Linked DNA regions of Homo sapiens: regions 2, 3 and 4 are each linked to region 1. The links are contacts of gene promoters, found by promoter capture Hi-C in blood cells and fetal thymus (Javierre and others, 2016). All regions are on one chromosome and are shown on one strand. The core of a region is centred on a gene start or on the middle of the fragment in contact, and the rest is flanking DNA. Distances in the headings are between cores, read along the strand shown.

What was found. Contacts are between HindIII fragments. The CHiCAGO score rates a contact against its expected background, and 5 or more counts as called.
Region 2: a contact is called between a fragment that was not itself captured here and the fragment with the promoter of MRPL3 in region 1, in 5 of 17 cell types (total CD8 T cells, total B cells, naive B cells and 2 more). The highest score is 6.1, in total CD8 T cells.
Region 3: a fragment that was not itself captured here is called in contact with the fragment with the promoter of MRPL3 in region 1 in 5 of 17 cell types (naive CD8 T cells, naive B cells, activated CD4 T cells and 2 more); the score reaches 8.7 in naive CD8 T cells.
Region 4: a contact is called between the fragment with the promoter of TOPBP1 here and the fragment with the promoter of MRPL3 in region 1, in 2 of 17 cell types (activated CD4 T cells and total B cells). The highest score is 5.8, in activated CD4 T cells.

What each region holds. Positions count from the first base shown.
Region 1 is chr3:131,501,721-131,505,266 of GRCh38, reverse strand. It overlaps MRPL3 (mitochondrial ribosomal protein L3), which reads left to right and starts at 2,296. Exons shown (of 10, transcript NM_007208.4): 1 at 2,296-2,537. The coding sequence starts at 2,446. It overlaps LOC105374114 (a long non-coding RNA gene), which reads right to left and starts at 2,668. Exons shown (of 3, transcript NR_189111.1): 1 at 2,563-2,668. RefSeq lists enhancers at 2,398-2,467, 1,974-2,660. The HindIII fragment of the contact is 1,488 bases long and covers 1,509-2,996 here.
Region 2 is chr3:134,480,428-134,483,973 of GRCh38, reverse strand. It overlaps ANAPC13 (anaphase promoting complex subunit 13), which reads left to right. Exons shown (of 3, transcript NM_015391.4): 2 at 1,043-1,168. The coding sequence starts at 1,070. Among named protein-coding and RNA genes, the nearest start is that of ANAPC13, 3.8 kb to the left of the region's middle. The HindIII fragment of the contact is 703 bases long and covers 1,303-2,005 here.
Region 3 is chr3:133,805,435-133,808,980 of GRCh38, reverse strand. It overlaps SRPRB (SRP receptor subunit beta), which reads right to left and starts at 3,166. Exons shown (of 7, transcript NM_001379313.1): 1 at 2,979-3,166; 2 at 2,278-2,372; 3 at 1,158-1,235. The coding sequence starts at 3,132. It overlaps LOC105374116 (a long non-coding RNA gene), which reads left to right and starts at 3,498. Exons shown (of 3, transcript XR_924513.3): 1 at 3,498-3,546. RefSeq lists enhancers at 2,605-2,714, 2,745-2,794, 2,905-3,114, 3,255-3,314, 3,405-3,514. The HindIII fragment of the contact is 771 bases long and covers 1,479-2,249 here.
Region 4 is chr3:133,660,186-133,663,731 of GRCh38, reverse strand. It overlaps TOPBP1 (DNA topoisomerase II binding protein 1), which reads left to right and starts at 1,791. Exons shown (of 28, transcript NM_007027.4): 1 at 1,791-1,963; 2 at 2,598-2,688. The coding sequence starts at 2,605. It overlaps LOC124909487, which reads right to left and starts at 2,506. Exons shown (of 3, transcript XM_047449438.1): 1 at 2,386-2,506; 2 at 1,699-2,219; 3 at 394-833. The coding sequence starts at 2,506. The coding sequence ends at 684. It also overlaps a transcript of TF not described here. RefSeq lists an enhancer at 1,365-1,434 and a silencer at 1,835-2,004. The HindIII fragment of the contact is 9,162 bases long and covers 1,665-3,546 here.

The DNA.
Region 1 (3,546 bases), core at 1,047-3,546:
GAGCCAAAGAAACAAAATGTCTAAAAGCATAAGCTCTATCTATGGTCACAGTCTTTGGCTCTACCAGTTAATAGCTGGGTGATTTTATTTAAGTTATGTAATCTCTGTATGCCTATTTTCTTAACTGTAAGATCCAGATAATTATACTATTGTCACAGCAGATTGTCATAACAATCAAGTGAGAAAATACACTGAGAGAGTAAAAATGAATACTATTAGTAACTGGACTGCAGTGTTTATAGCAGAACATCAATACAATATTTCTTTTTTTTTTTTTTGAGACGGAGTCTTGCTCTGTCACCCAGGCTGGAGTGCAGTGGCTCAATCTCGCTCACTGCAAGCTGCGCCTCCCAGGTTCACACCATTCTCCTGCCTCAGCCTCCTGAGTAGCTGGGACTACAGGCACCCGCCACTACGCCCGGCTAATTTTTTTTTGTATTTTTAGTAGAGAAGGGGTTTCACCATGTCAGCCAGGATGGTCTCAATCTCCTGACCTCGTGATCCACCCGCCTTGGCATCCCAAAGTGCTGAGCCACCACGCCCAGCCCATCATTACAATATTTCTTACAGACCGTACTGTAGGCCACACCACTGCAGCAAAATGACTAACAGTTCCTTATTCTGAGTGATTCCTGCTTTCTTATGAACATCATGCCCACTTCCTCTCTGTTCTTCCTGTCTCTAGAACAAAGACTATCAAGATATCCAATTGCTGAACTGTCCTTTCTTCTTGACAGCACCCATTCTAAAACAAGTTCCTGCTTCTCTGATGCCACTTTAAAATCACTCAGCCTTAAGTCCAAATTTCATTTCAAGCCCCTCCCAGGTCACTCTTTTGGAAACATCCTCAGACATATGCTGTCTTTTGCTGCATCAAGCTAATTAAACTTGACTTTGTATGAGTTCACGTTTTCTTCTAGTAGCCTTGGCTTATGGGCTTCCACAATGCTGAGCACATACTCTAGCACACTATATGGATAAGAAATGTTAGTTATTGGCAGTAGTACAGAAATCTTCTTATTCTCAACTTCTTGCATGTAGCACACCTCAAAACATGTTTGTTCAATGAAGAGCCATCCTTAAGTATCTGGGAAGCCAGGCAGCATGGCTAGAATGAAGAGATGTAGTTTTTCCTTCAAGGTCCAAAGTATTATTGAAAAGTGTCTAAGGTAACTGCAACAGCAATGAGTGGAATGAATGGACAAGCAAAGCAAAGATTTTTTAGCCCACTAAAGTCCAAGTAATGGCCAGGAATTGACCATTGTCTGGACCTGTTAAACCAAGATAGCCAGATCTCTAGTAAAAAGAGAAGGTTGAAATAGCTACACTTTAAAGTTCTTATTTCCAAATTTCTACAAACAGTAATCTGACAAATAAGGGAATTAGTAGAAGAATAAATGTCCTAGTCACATACATGGTTATTAGGCTAGATCTGGAACCCAAGACAGGGGATTTTTTGTGCAGGTGTATTAGCTATCTATTATTGCATAACAAATTACCCTAAAGCTTAATGACTCAAAAAAACGGTAATCATTTATTTTCTCTGGCAATTTCTCCTAGTCAGTAATTCATGAGCGGCCTGGCTGGGAGATTCAGGCTTAACGTCTCCATGAGTTGCAGCCGAGGACTGGTGGATCCACTTCCTAGGTGGCTCAGTCATGACTGGCTAGTTGATTCCTCTTTATATGTTCCTCCCTGCAGAGCTGTTTGAGTGTCTGCAGGAAATGAAGGCTAGCTTTCTCCACAGGGAGCAATCCAAGAGACAAAAACTGAAGTAACAATATGTTTTATGATCCAGCCCTAGAAGGCATACATCATTTCTATGGGTGTAGTCTATTGATAACACATGCCAACCCTGTTTCAGTGCCAACTCTGCTCCTCTGCCAGATGTGTTGTTTTGGACCAGCACCTAAATTCTGAGTCAGTTTCCTCATTTATAATAGAAAAATAAATACTTCCTTTCAGGACCGTTTTTTATGATTAACAAATATAGGATTATGAAGCGCTGCTTAGCATAATGCATTGCCTCACAACGGGCACTATTTAGAAGTGTCTTCATTTTCCTTAGCGTCCTCAGGAAGTCTGTCCTTATTCTTCTAAAGTTTAAACTCTGAACATCCCTTTTATTTTACCCCTGGAGAGGCGAGTCAGTCCCTTCCCACCCCTACCTACTCCAACTCACATCCAAAGTAGGACAACGGTGGAAGCAGAACTATAGTTTCCGGGGAGCGACTCGAGTGCCCGGAGTTCATTGTAAAACGCACCGGAAGTGGGTCCGGCGGCTTTCTTTCCGTCGCAGAGAGCATCGGCCGGCGACCGTTCCGGCGGCCATTGCGAAAACTTCCCCACGGCTACTGCGTCCACGTGGCGGTGGCGTGGGGACTCCCTGAAAGCAGAGCGGCAGGGCGCCCGGAAGTCGTGAGTCGAGTCTTCCCGGGCTAATCCATGCCGGGTTGGAGGCTGCTGACGCAGGTCGGCGCCCAGGTGCTGGGTCGACTCGGGGACGGCCTGGGTGCTGCCCTGGGCCCGGGGAACAGGTAGGAAGGTGTGAGGGTGTCCTACCTGCACAGTTGCGTCCTGAAGCAGTGGAATGGCCTGGTGCAGTTGGGCCTCCCCTGGGTGGAGGAGGAAGGGGCTCTGTTGAGACGTGGGACACAGAAGAATAAGGGCCGTTAACCTAAGGAAGCACGTTCTAAGGGGATTGAAGTGGTGATTTTTAAAAAACGCTTATGAGCCAGCCACTAGCAGCGAACGCTATTAACAGCAATCATATCTTACAATTAGTGAGCGTTTGCCAGGTACTAAGCGCTCTGCTAAGTGTATTAGGTGCCTTATGTAGCCTCACGGGAGCAAACTGCTATCATAAGGTTTACAGATAAAACTGAAGGTTAGGGAGGTGAGTTAATTTGCCCAAAGTCACTCAACTAATAAGTGGAAAATTAGGAATCTAGCCTGAATTTATCTGACTACAAAAGGAGAGTAGACTGCAGAAAGCTTTACTTCTGTTCTGACCCTCCATGCAAGAATTACACCCCTTCTTCCTGACCTCCGCCCACTAAGGTCTTTCTTGGTATGTTCACCTGTTCAGAGGTCATGCCTTTTGTGGATCTTTTAACTTTGCACACCCAGTTTCTTCACTTCTCTGAACCTAGGCCATGTCATTGCAGGGAGGAGGTGAGCTTGTTAGACAAAGATCAACATGCCACCTTCTGCCACCTCCACTGAATGTAAAACTATTAAGGTACACTTCCAAATGGGTTAGTGGCTTTTCATGTCTATAGGTAGGACTGTTTTTTGGGGAATATGTTTATCTGCGAGGAGAAGATGAATTTTTTTCTCCAGGGTAACGACTAACAGTTTAAATGTGAGCCTTATCCGAAGGAATGTGGGGAGTGAGGAAAAGGTTGGAGACCTGAAAAAAAGGTATACAGAATCCAAGCCCTTTCCCAAGGCCCTGACTACACTTTCCAATTTGTGACTTCCCTTTTCTATATTAAGTGGAGGAAGTTTTTAAATTGTGGTTTGGTTTTATTTATTTTTTCTTTT
Region 2 (3,546 bases), core at 405-2,904, 3.0 Mb before region 1:
CTGACACAAATCCTCAAGGCAAGACGATGTCTGAAGTTGAGCTTGTAAAGGAAATGGCTTCCTTCCTTAAAATATCACCCAGGCTGAGCTCTGAAAAAAGCACCTCCAGATGGTGGGTTCCACCCCGCTCCACCACCCCAAAATTGCTTATTGTGTGAGTCTCCATAGTCTCAGAAACTGAGAGTACCTTTGATGCCAGTGGCTTCCGGGCTTTTTGGATTGTCACTTGGTAGCAGGGAGCACCCATAGGATGATGCCTATGATGAGTCAGGGCCCAACCTTGGAAACAGGGAAATCCAGAAGTATCCTACAAGCTAGCCAGCCTTTTGGATTAGATTATAGCAGTTTCAGAGAAAAATGGGGAATCAGCCATGGTCAAGGAGCTAAATAAGCATCGTGACCATTTGGGCCAGAAATTGAAGGGAGTGTAGCGTTAAGAATTAGAGGAAGGAACCTCCGAGGAAGGAGCTACCCCAAAGGGAAGCAGAAACTGGAGAAACTTTAGCAGTATGAGGTTCTACCACTGGTGTTCACCTAGAAGTGCTTTATTCAGATCTCAGCCTGGGTACTATTTTAGGGAAGGAAGCCGTTTCCTTTACAGTATGTTCGTGTGACTCCTGTGCCTAAGAATGCTGAGGTTTGAGCCAGGGGCTAGAAAGGAAACTTAGCTGGCCATTATGAATCAGGGACTCATCAAAGGCATCACAAACAGGAAAAGGTGAATGTTCAAGTTAGAAGAGAAGAGCTACATTGAGATGCAACATATTAATATTTGAGGGCCTCGTTTAACGTGTTGCTCTCCTGTCACACTCTATGACACTGGTCTGTCAGCTGGGCTATGCCTGTCCAGTATACACTATAAAATATGTATCAGTTGGGGTTGGAGAGAGGAACTGTGATCAAAGTAGTCACCCGGCCCATATGAGAAAATGAACCTTTTCCCAAAAGGTGGCCCCAGACTAAAAAGCCTGGAGAATCCTAATAGTGGATTATACCATCTCTTCAGTCTTCGTGTTTAAGAAATAACCTCTTTGGCTTACAGATTTGACAAGATCAAAGCTGCAGGAAAATGGACAGTGAGGTTCAGAGAGATGGAAGGATCTTGGATTTGATTGATGATGCTTGGCGAGAAGACAAGCTGCCTTATGAGGATGTCGCAATACCACTGGTAGGTTATGATTTGAGCTGAGGATGGGTTAAAGGTATTGATCTGGCAGTAACTAGTGGAGGAGGGATATCAATGGAAGATAAACTAGTGTGGCAAAGAAATCAAAGCTGTGGAATTCTCTAACTCTAGAAGCTTCTGGAGAGCATCCAGTTGTATGTTTTATTTGAAGAAAAATGTGGTTCAGGGAGCTAACATGGCCAGGTCAGTTAGGAGTCATGCCAGGACTAGAGCCCCGATTTTCTGAGCCATGTTCTGTCCACCACACGAAAACCAGAGAAACCAAATAATGAGAGTTTAATGCGCAAGATGGGGAAGAACAAGAAGCAGCAGCATATGAGCTCTGTTTCTTACTTCCCTGCCTGTGGCTCATCAGTCTTTCAGCATTTTTAGAAACTTACATTCTTGGAGCATACACCTATCTTAGGTTCCCTGGAAAATATTCAGAAGATACCTGGGTATTCTTTTGCGTTTAGGCCAGTGGCCTTCTGGAATACTCTTTTCTTCCCCATCTTTGGAAAACTCTGCTGCAGGGAGTTTGTTAAACCTCATGTAATAAGTGATCCAAAAGTTTTGCTTATATAAATGTTTGTTTAAAATCCTATTTATGTCATAGAGGCCTAAAAAAGGGAAAACAGGACTGTTTTTCTTTAAAGCATGCCAGCTGCCCTGAGAAGAGTAGTTAGTATTGAATAAAATATAATTTATAGTTAGAATATCTGCTGTTGCTGTTTGCAAAGAAATAAAATAGTTCATCTGTATTTTCATTTACGAATAAGAGATAGTAATATGTTCAATGAATAATATACATATCAAATAAGTCATAGCTTAGTTCAAGCTTAGGAAAATAGTCAAAAGAGAGAGCATAATAAGAATTATAGATGTCATTTATTGAATACCAGTTTTATGCCATGGACTGAGGTTGGAAATATACATTATCTCTAATTCTTAAACAACCCTGTGAGGGAGGTGCTGTTATTCCCATTTTATAGGAAAAGAATAGGATCAGAAAGGGCAACTTGCCCAAAGTCTGGTAGCAGGTAAGTAGGGCTTCATATAACATATACCTAGGTCTGTGAAGTTCCAAATCCTGTCTTGTGAACTTCTGTTCATTCATTCATTTGACAAGCATTTTTTGAAGCCTACTGTGTGCCATAAGACTATGTGAACATAAGATACAGTTCCTCCTCCTGAGGGGTCTAGAAAGGCAACACTTATAGATAAGTAATTGTGATAATAAATATTCTAGGTGGGGGCATAAACAGCCACATCATATACGAAGTGGCTGATTGCCTGGTGGGCATCAGAAAGGCTTCTGAGAGAATGTCATGTTTAAGCTGGGTCATAAGGAAGGACCAGAAGTTTAGTGGAGGTAGACAAGGGTATTGCAGCAGAGGGGACAGATGTGTAAAGGCCCAGAGTTTTGAAAGGCTTTGGGACATGGTGAGTCATTCACTGTGGATGAAGAATACATTTGTCACATAAGTAGGCTGAAAAGTTGGGCTTGGATCAGATTGAGAGTGGTATTTGATATCACACTTAGACCTCATCCTCAGGAGATCCAGGAATGAATGGTCTTAAAAGCAAGACTGCTATGCTCAGATTTGGCTTTTGGAAAATCAGTTTAGCCAGCATTGTTAGAGATGGTGTGACATGGAGATAGGGGCAAGTGAGACCAATTGGCAAGCTGTTGTGGTCTAGGCAAGGGAGGAGGGCCTAAACAAAGTCAAGAAAATAAAGGAGACGTCCATTTCTGGAGAAGTTTATGGCTCAGATTGGAGAACATTTGGGTGGCAGGGGTGGAAGGAGGTTTCCCTGCTGACTTCCAGGCGAAGTTGGCTTGGCCCTGCTGCTAATCCACACCTTTCGCTTGTCTTGCGATTCTAAGGCAATGTGTATGCCAGTTAGGTTTTGCTGCATAACAAGTCACCCCAAAGCTTAGTGACTTAAAAGAGCAACTGTTTATTTCATGATTTTGTAGCTCAGCTGGGAGGGACTTCTAGTCTGCACCAGCTCAGCTGATCCCTGCCAGGCTTGCCTGTGTTGTGCAGTCAGCCAACAGACTCTGGAGGCTGGGTAATCTAGGACTGTCTCACATGTCTGGCAGTTAACAAGCTGTCTGCTGGGTGATGGGGTGACTATGCCATGGTCTCTGGTATCCAGCAGGCTAGCCCAGACTTCTCAATCTCAGGGTTCCAAGAGCAACCTGAGAGGAAACGGCAGAGCTTCTTGGAGCTTAGGCCAAGAACTGGCCCACTGGCATGACAGCTTCATTCTGTTGGCCAAAACAACTCACAGGGCCAGTCCAAATCCAAGATTGGGGAAATCAGTTTCACCTTTTGATAAGAGTAGCTGCAAAGAACTAAGGGCATTTTACAGTA
Region 3 (3,546 bases), core at 615-3,114, 2.3 Mb before region 1:
AATCGGTTTGGTAGTCACTGTCTACATTCTGAAGTTACAGAGGTATGTAAAATGTCTTTCCCATGATTCCTTATATTTTTTTTTTTTTTTTGAGACTTAGTCTCGCTCTATTGCCCAGGCTGGAGTGCAGTGGCGCAATCTTGGCTCACTGCCACCTCCACCTCCCGGGTTAAAATGATTCTCATGCCTCAGCCTCCCGAGTAGCTGGGTTACAGGCGCCCACCACCACACCCGGCTAATTTTTGTATTTTTAGTAGAGACAGGATTTCATCATGTTGGCCAGGCTGGTCTTGAACTCCTGACCTCAAGTGATCGGCCTACCTTGGTCTCCCAAAGTGCTGGGATTACAGGCGTGAGCCACCAAGCCAGGCCCCATGATTCCTTATATTTGAAATACACTCATATATACTCTGTAAGATATCCATTGCAGCACTGTTTGTAAAAGCAAAGGTTATAATAACAAAACTAAATGTCTATTAACACGGTCCAGATTAAGTAAGAATTTAATTTTATGGTATAGCAACAGAGTGGAGTACTATGCAGCTCATAAACCAACCAGATGGTACTATGTATACAAATGTAGGACAATAAGAAAAGCCCAAGTTGTATCAGCCGTATGAGAAAAATAATGGGCAGAACAGCATTTAAAAAAAAACAACAATAAAGGATATACAGACATGTTTGTATATGCACAGAACATCCGGAAGACTACATACAAAAAAAAGTAAGTCACTGCTTCTGAGGAGAAAACTAGGTAGTGGGGAAAGGAAAGGAAAAATTACTTTTCACCAAATATCTTTTCTAACCTTTTGAATTTTTGTCCCATGTGCATGTATTACCTATTCAAAACTTAAAAGGTTTAATGCCCACTCTTAAGAACTCATTGTAAAGTTGGAAAGAAGACACAGAAACAAAAAATAAGAATAAAATGTGATATAACATTACTGTACATTAAGGTACAACAATGCAGAGGAGGGCATGATTAAATCTACTGTACAGATTGTCAAGAGAATTTGTCACAAAGAATATGTTTCTCCATAAAAATAAGCTACAAATGGTACTTACATCCTCAGATGAACTCATCCTAAAAATGTCCTTAACTGACACACCACAGTAAAGTAAGACTGTCAGACTCCAAAACTCCACAAACATCTTACCCTGTTATTGTTGACTCTGTATACAGCACAGCTGTCAGTAATGGACGTCTGAGTGTCTCTATAAAGGCCTGTTAACAACTGTAAAAAAAACAAGATGGGTGATATTCAACATTTTAATAGCACACCTAAATTGAGTTATATTATTCTAAGTCTCCCAGGTGTAAGGTTAAGTAAATGAATGCTGCTTCCGACAGGTGAAAAAGACGATATTGATTTTTTTTACCTGTAGAAAAAAATCTAATTAATTGCATATTTTACTCCTCAGTGGAATAAAAACAACATTATTCTCAAAAGACAGTTAGTGGCCAAATTTGCCAAGCTTCTGTAAAGATTTTTAACCAACAAAAATGATTTGAAGCCTGGGCAACATGGCAAAATCTCATCTCTACAAAAAATATAAAAAATCAGCCGGGCGTAGTGTTGCACGCCTGTAGTCCCAGCTACTCGGAGGCTGAGGTGGGAGAATCATCTGAGTCCCAGAGGTCAAGGCTGCAATGAGCAGAGATCTCGCCACTGCACTCCAGCCTGGGCATTGGAGTGAGACACTCCCTCAAAAAAAAAAAAAAAAAAAAAATGGAGGTATTTCTTTAATGGAAGGGAAATAATTTATACTCTCAAAAAGAAGAGTTAAAAAGCAGAAAACCTCTCCTATTCACCACATTAAAATACACTGTTAAAAATACTAAATGTATTAAAAATAAATATTAGTAAAAAGAAGCCTAACTAGCCCACTATGTCAAAGAAGGATCACCCTGTGAAAAAGTGTCTTCGATAAACTGTCCTAAGAATTTGTTAACGAAGGAATTATAAACTGTAGGACACTAGCTTCTATGCCTTCTGCTATTCTGGAATGAAACTAATTAAATAAAATCCTTGAATGTGATAAAGACTAAATATCAGCATCTGGCAAGGGCAAACAGAAAAAAAAAAGGAGAAATGACCAATATTTCTCAATTATGGGTTTCTACGAGTCTTTTTGTTCTCCCAAGTAAGTCAAGAATTAACTTCCAAATTTAACAGCATCAGCTTCTTTTACAAAATAAACCGTGAGATGACAGGAATACTGGGATCTATAAAATTTTCTATTAAGCTTAACAGGGGTGTCAATGAAATCATTTACCCTGACAAAGAGCAACGTTTTCCCGGAATCACAAAGGCCAACAAGAAGAACAGCTCTCTGACTGCTCCTTCTGCTCCGGATTAACTTCCAGAAGACTGTGGAATAGACAGAGAAAAACAACAAAAATTACGCCTTGGGAATCAGTATATGTGCATGGCTGGGGTGGGGAAATTCACAGAAGTCTGTGACGAAACACCTCATTCACCTGGAACTGACTTTTATCATAATGGTTACTATTGCTGTTGTTAGGGATCCACTGAGAGCCAGGCACTGTCAACTGTCAACTTTTCTTTGCAGTCCTTACTCTGACTGGGACTCAGGTGCTATCTCACTACCTTGGTATCCCAGCGCCCGCACGCAAACACGGGAGGCTGAAAGTTGGTGTCAAGACCCTGAGTCTTTGCAGTGAGAACAGCGGAAGGCGAGGAACAGCGCGCTCAAGCGTAACAGGGCAGATGACGAAGAGCAATCTGCGCCCCAAGGACCAGGACGTTAACTCCGGGGGTTGCCCGGCATCCCCCTTAACGCCCAGCTGCTGCCGCTGCTTCAGGAGAGAGGGTGGGGTGTAGACTGGGTGGGTCTCACCCTCCTGATGCCCTCAAGGCGCCCTCTCAGCCCCGCGTCCCCGGCCTGCAGCGGTGCAGCCAAAGCCCGGACCTCTGCCCGCCCCAAACCCGCCATGACCACCGGCCGCCTTTTACCTAGCGTCAGCAGCACCGCAAGAACCGCCACCACTACTGACAACAGCGTTGGGTCCGTCTGCTGCAGCTCCTGCCGCAAGGTGTCTAGGTAGGGCTGGAAGGTGCCCCCGGCACCGCCGCCATCTGCCACCCGGCGCGAGTCCGCGGAAGCCATGGATGAGACGCGTGGTCCCCGGTACAGCAAAAGCGACGTGGCCCTGCACTCTGCGCAGGCGCGGGGAGCAGAGCCTCACGCGAATGGTGGTTCCTAAGCCATAGTCTCTCCCTCAGCCGCGGCGATCCCCCAAGTGCTTGATGGGAGTTGTAGTTCTCTGGGACTCCGTCCTCCTACAGAACGATAGGGGCAGACAGGTTATTTGTCGAGGGACACACACATCTTTTAAGAGATGAGTCAGTCGTCGTCACCTACGTTATGACTGTTGAAAGAATGATGAAATGAATAAAATGAATGAATGGCTCCCGAAACTACCACTGAGGAGTTCCCGACCGTCGCTAAGTGACGTGAGACTTGTGAAGAACTCAAGCATCCTACAAACATTTAATCTGAATTTAATGTGACAAGGGATGT
Region 4 (3,546 bases), core at 542-3,041, 2.2 Mb before region 1:
GCCCAGGAGCAGTGTGGTGTGTCAGGAAAGGCACGGGCAAGTGACACAGTCCCTGAACTTCACTTTCCCCATCTCCATAACATGAGACAATGATACCCATCTATTATAGGGTTGCTGAAAAGAGTAAACGGGAATAGTGTGAGCAGGAGTCCCATGTTAACTGTAAAGTGCCCTAGAAATATTAATTGTTATTACAGATTCAGGTCAGATTTGCACCTTAACAATTAACTGTGGTTTCTTTTTTTTCCCACCTCTAGTGATTTTTGTTTTTTTGCTTTTAAGGCTTTCTTCACCCTTCCCCCAGCAATAGGCCTTTACCTTTGAGCCCCAGTGTTAATTGATTCTGACTCATTTCTGGTAAAAAAAAAAAAAAAAAAAAATTAATGATATTTATTAAAGCACAGTAAGACAGATTTTATTCCGGACCATCAGGATAGGTATAGCAACCATGGCAATGGGATTCTGAATTAGGAGAGAGAGAGTGGGCTCAACTCTAAATACACCATGGGCAAGTGGGAATTTATAGCCAAGGAACAAAAAGCTTGGGGTCACTGGATAAAAAATTACTAAGAAGGAACTTCAGGAGTAAAGGGGTTTCTTGCTGAAAATAGGTCAAGGTGATCAGACATCACCTTGGATGGTAGAGGATGAGGAACCTGATCAGATATTGAGGGTAGAGGGTTCTAACTGGATTTTCCAAGGAAATGCACAGATAAACCTACGAGAAGGTTGAGGAGTCTGACTAAAGTTTGGCCAAGCAAAGAATCTTTGTCACCTTCCATCGGTGTATTCAAAAACTTAAGACTCAAGCTGCTCATTACTATCTTTAGGCTCTAAAAAGAAAAGAAAAACAAAAACAATCAAGGGACATGGCATTATACTTTTACATTAGTAAATCCAAAGTCATTTTCTCAATCTCAGCAGTGAATAATAAAATGATCCTCATTAGTATAGTGGCTAGATTTTATAAAATAAGAAAAAATTTTTTTAAAAAAGAATAAAATGAAAAGAAGCAACAACGAATCAGTTTTCCGCTGGTTATCACTAAGGTTTGCAGGCCCATCTTATCCCCTCTCCCTTTGCTCTCTGCCATCTGAATCTTAGGTTCAGTCCCAGAATCTCCCCAGTACTGAGGCAGATGCAGAGAAAGAGAACGGCGATGTCCACTGAAGGGGAGGAGGAGGGGAGACCATTGAAGATCTTGACAAAGATCCCTTTGCATTAGCTGTGTAATAAGTCATCCTTTCTTCCCTTGCCATCTTGTGGCTGTGTTAGGCGGTGATTCTATTCCTGCTGTGTTGGAGGGAAACCACCCAGTCCGTAGTCAGAAGACCTGGATGCAGTATTAATTCTACCACCTACTAGCCGTGTGCCCTTGAACCCATCATTTAACTTCCTCCGTTTTTACATCTACAAAATGGAACTACCACTATTTGCCTCACGGAATTGTTTTGGATAATACCTTTTCCCGTGCATGCCTGGTATAAGACAGGTGTAAAATAAATATCTATTGAGGAAATCCTTTCTTTCCCTGGCTTTTTTAACAGTAAAGGAGTATTCCTGGCCTGTGGTCCTACCTCTTGAACCGACGGCGCTGGGCCTACTCGCAGCGGAGACTAGGCCCGCCCAGCAAAGCCCTAAACCCAAAGGGTCCGGCCCAAGCTTTCCCTGAAGCCCCACCGCCCACAGACTGCTCACCTCCACGTTTGACATTTCCGCTCTTCTGCTGCAGCTGCCGATGGCGTCACTTCCACCGGAAAAGGCAAGCGCGGCCGCGCGGTTGGCGCGAAAGTCGGTTCCCGTTCTGGGCAATTTCCGGGTTCTCCAGCGTTTGCTTTGGGGTAGGGGCGGCGCCGAGTCGGGGGAGGGGGCTGTGCGCCGGGCTGGCGCCCGACCCCAGCCACCGCCCTGCGGCCAGCGCGTCCCCCGACTCGCCGCCCGGAGACCCCGAGGCTCCAACGAGGTAAGTGAGGCGCGGAGTGGGGACACAGCTCCTCCCCAGCCCCAACTGGGGTTCGCGATGCCTTCTGTGGCCTTCAGGACCCTCTTTTCCTGTCCTGGTAACTGGCCCTGGAGCCGGCGGGTGGGCCTTTGACGCCGAGAGGACGTGGCTTCCGTGATCCCAGAGCCAGGCCTTTTCCTGGAGATGGGAACCGGAGCATCTAGCCTTATGCAGGGCCAAGACCATGCTAACTGGCTTCCATGTTTATATTTAAAATCTGTTTACTGAGGGATGAACGTACCTCGCAGGCCGTGGGTATCCGCAGGGACAGATACACTCTGTGTATCCTTAAAACAAGTGCAATTGAATGTCCATTGGCCTAAAGGGCTTAGAGCCTTCATAGCAGGGCCTTCCTCAGTGTATTCAATTCGGGTTAATTTTGCTGTCTGATTTGCAAGGATTGGTGTTGTCATCTTTTACCTTGGCTTTGTCCAAGTTCCAGGATTTCTTAGAAATGCCGTTGACGAATTCACGGGCAGAGCCAGAATGTCTGTCTTTAGGCATTCTTGTCTGCACAGAAAAATAGGTAGGTTAAACATGCAACTTTTTATCTAATGTGGTTTTGTTCTTGTTAATGGTTCCTTTATTTTGACAGTTCAGAAATGTCCAGAAATGACAAAGAACCGTTTTTTGTGAAGTTTTTAAAGTCTTCAGACAATTCCAAATGTTTTTTTAAAGCTCTCGAGGTAAGAGTTGAAAACATCTTAATACCGTGAATTCATTTTCTTGTTTTTAAGTGTTTTTGATTTGTTGGGCTTTATGTCTTAGAAGTAGATATTTCACTTTCATAATAATTTTATAGTCTACATTAATACAGATATATCATTATCACATATTTTTGAATTGATCTAAGTACATCATTATGTATTTCGGGGGGCTGGAAGTCTATTATCACATTGCTGTTTAATATGGCTGACCTACAGTTCTTGGAAATTAAGTTGCTTTCATTTGTCTCCTAGCCAGAGTGGTCCTTTGCGTGCTGTAGAAATTTGAGTCAGTTGTGTACTGGTCATACTTGAAAATTTTTTGGTTAATTGTTAAAAATTATGTTTTATTATGTACAGTATAATAATTGGATGATAGTAGGGGTGATGTAGATCCTTGCTTCTCACAGAACCCAGCAGTATCAGCATGGCCTGGAAGTTTCTTCGAAATGCAGAATCTTGGCCTCCAACCCAGACTTAGAATCTGCATTTCTAACAAGATCTTCAGTGTGCATTAAAGTTTGAGAAGCATTTGTAGCAGATTTTTTTAAACTTCATTCATTCAGCAAGTATTTATTGAAGTGTTCATGATTTGATAGGCACTTCTCTAGTACTTGGGATTTATCAGTGATGAGAACAGGCAAAGATTTCTGTTCTTTCAGAGCTTACATTCTAGCAGGAGGACATAGACACTAATCAGACATGATAAATTAGGAAGAGAAAAAAGCAAAACACGTTAAGGGGTTCCAGAGGATGTTTCTTGGGGTGGGAAGAGAAGGGGGTTATAATCTTAAATAGGGTGTGATCAGGGTAGGCTTTATGAAGAAAAAGATATTGAGT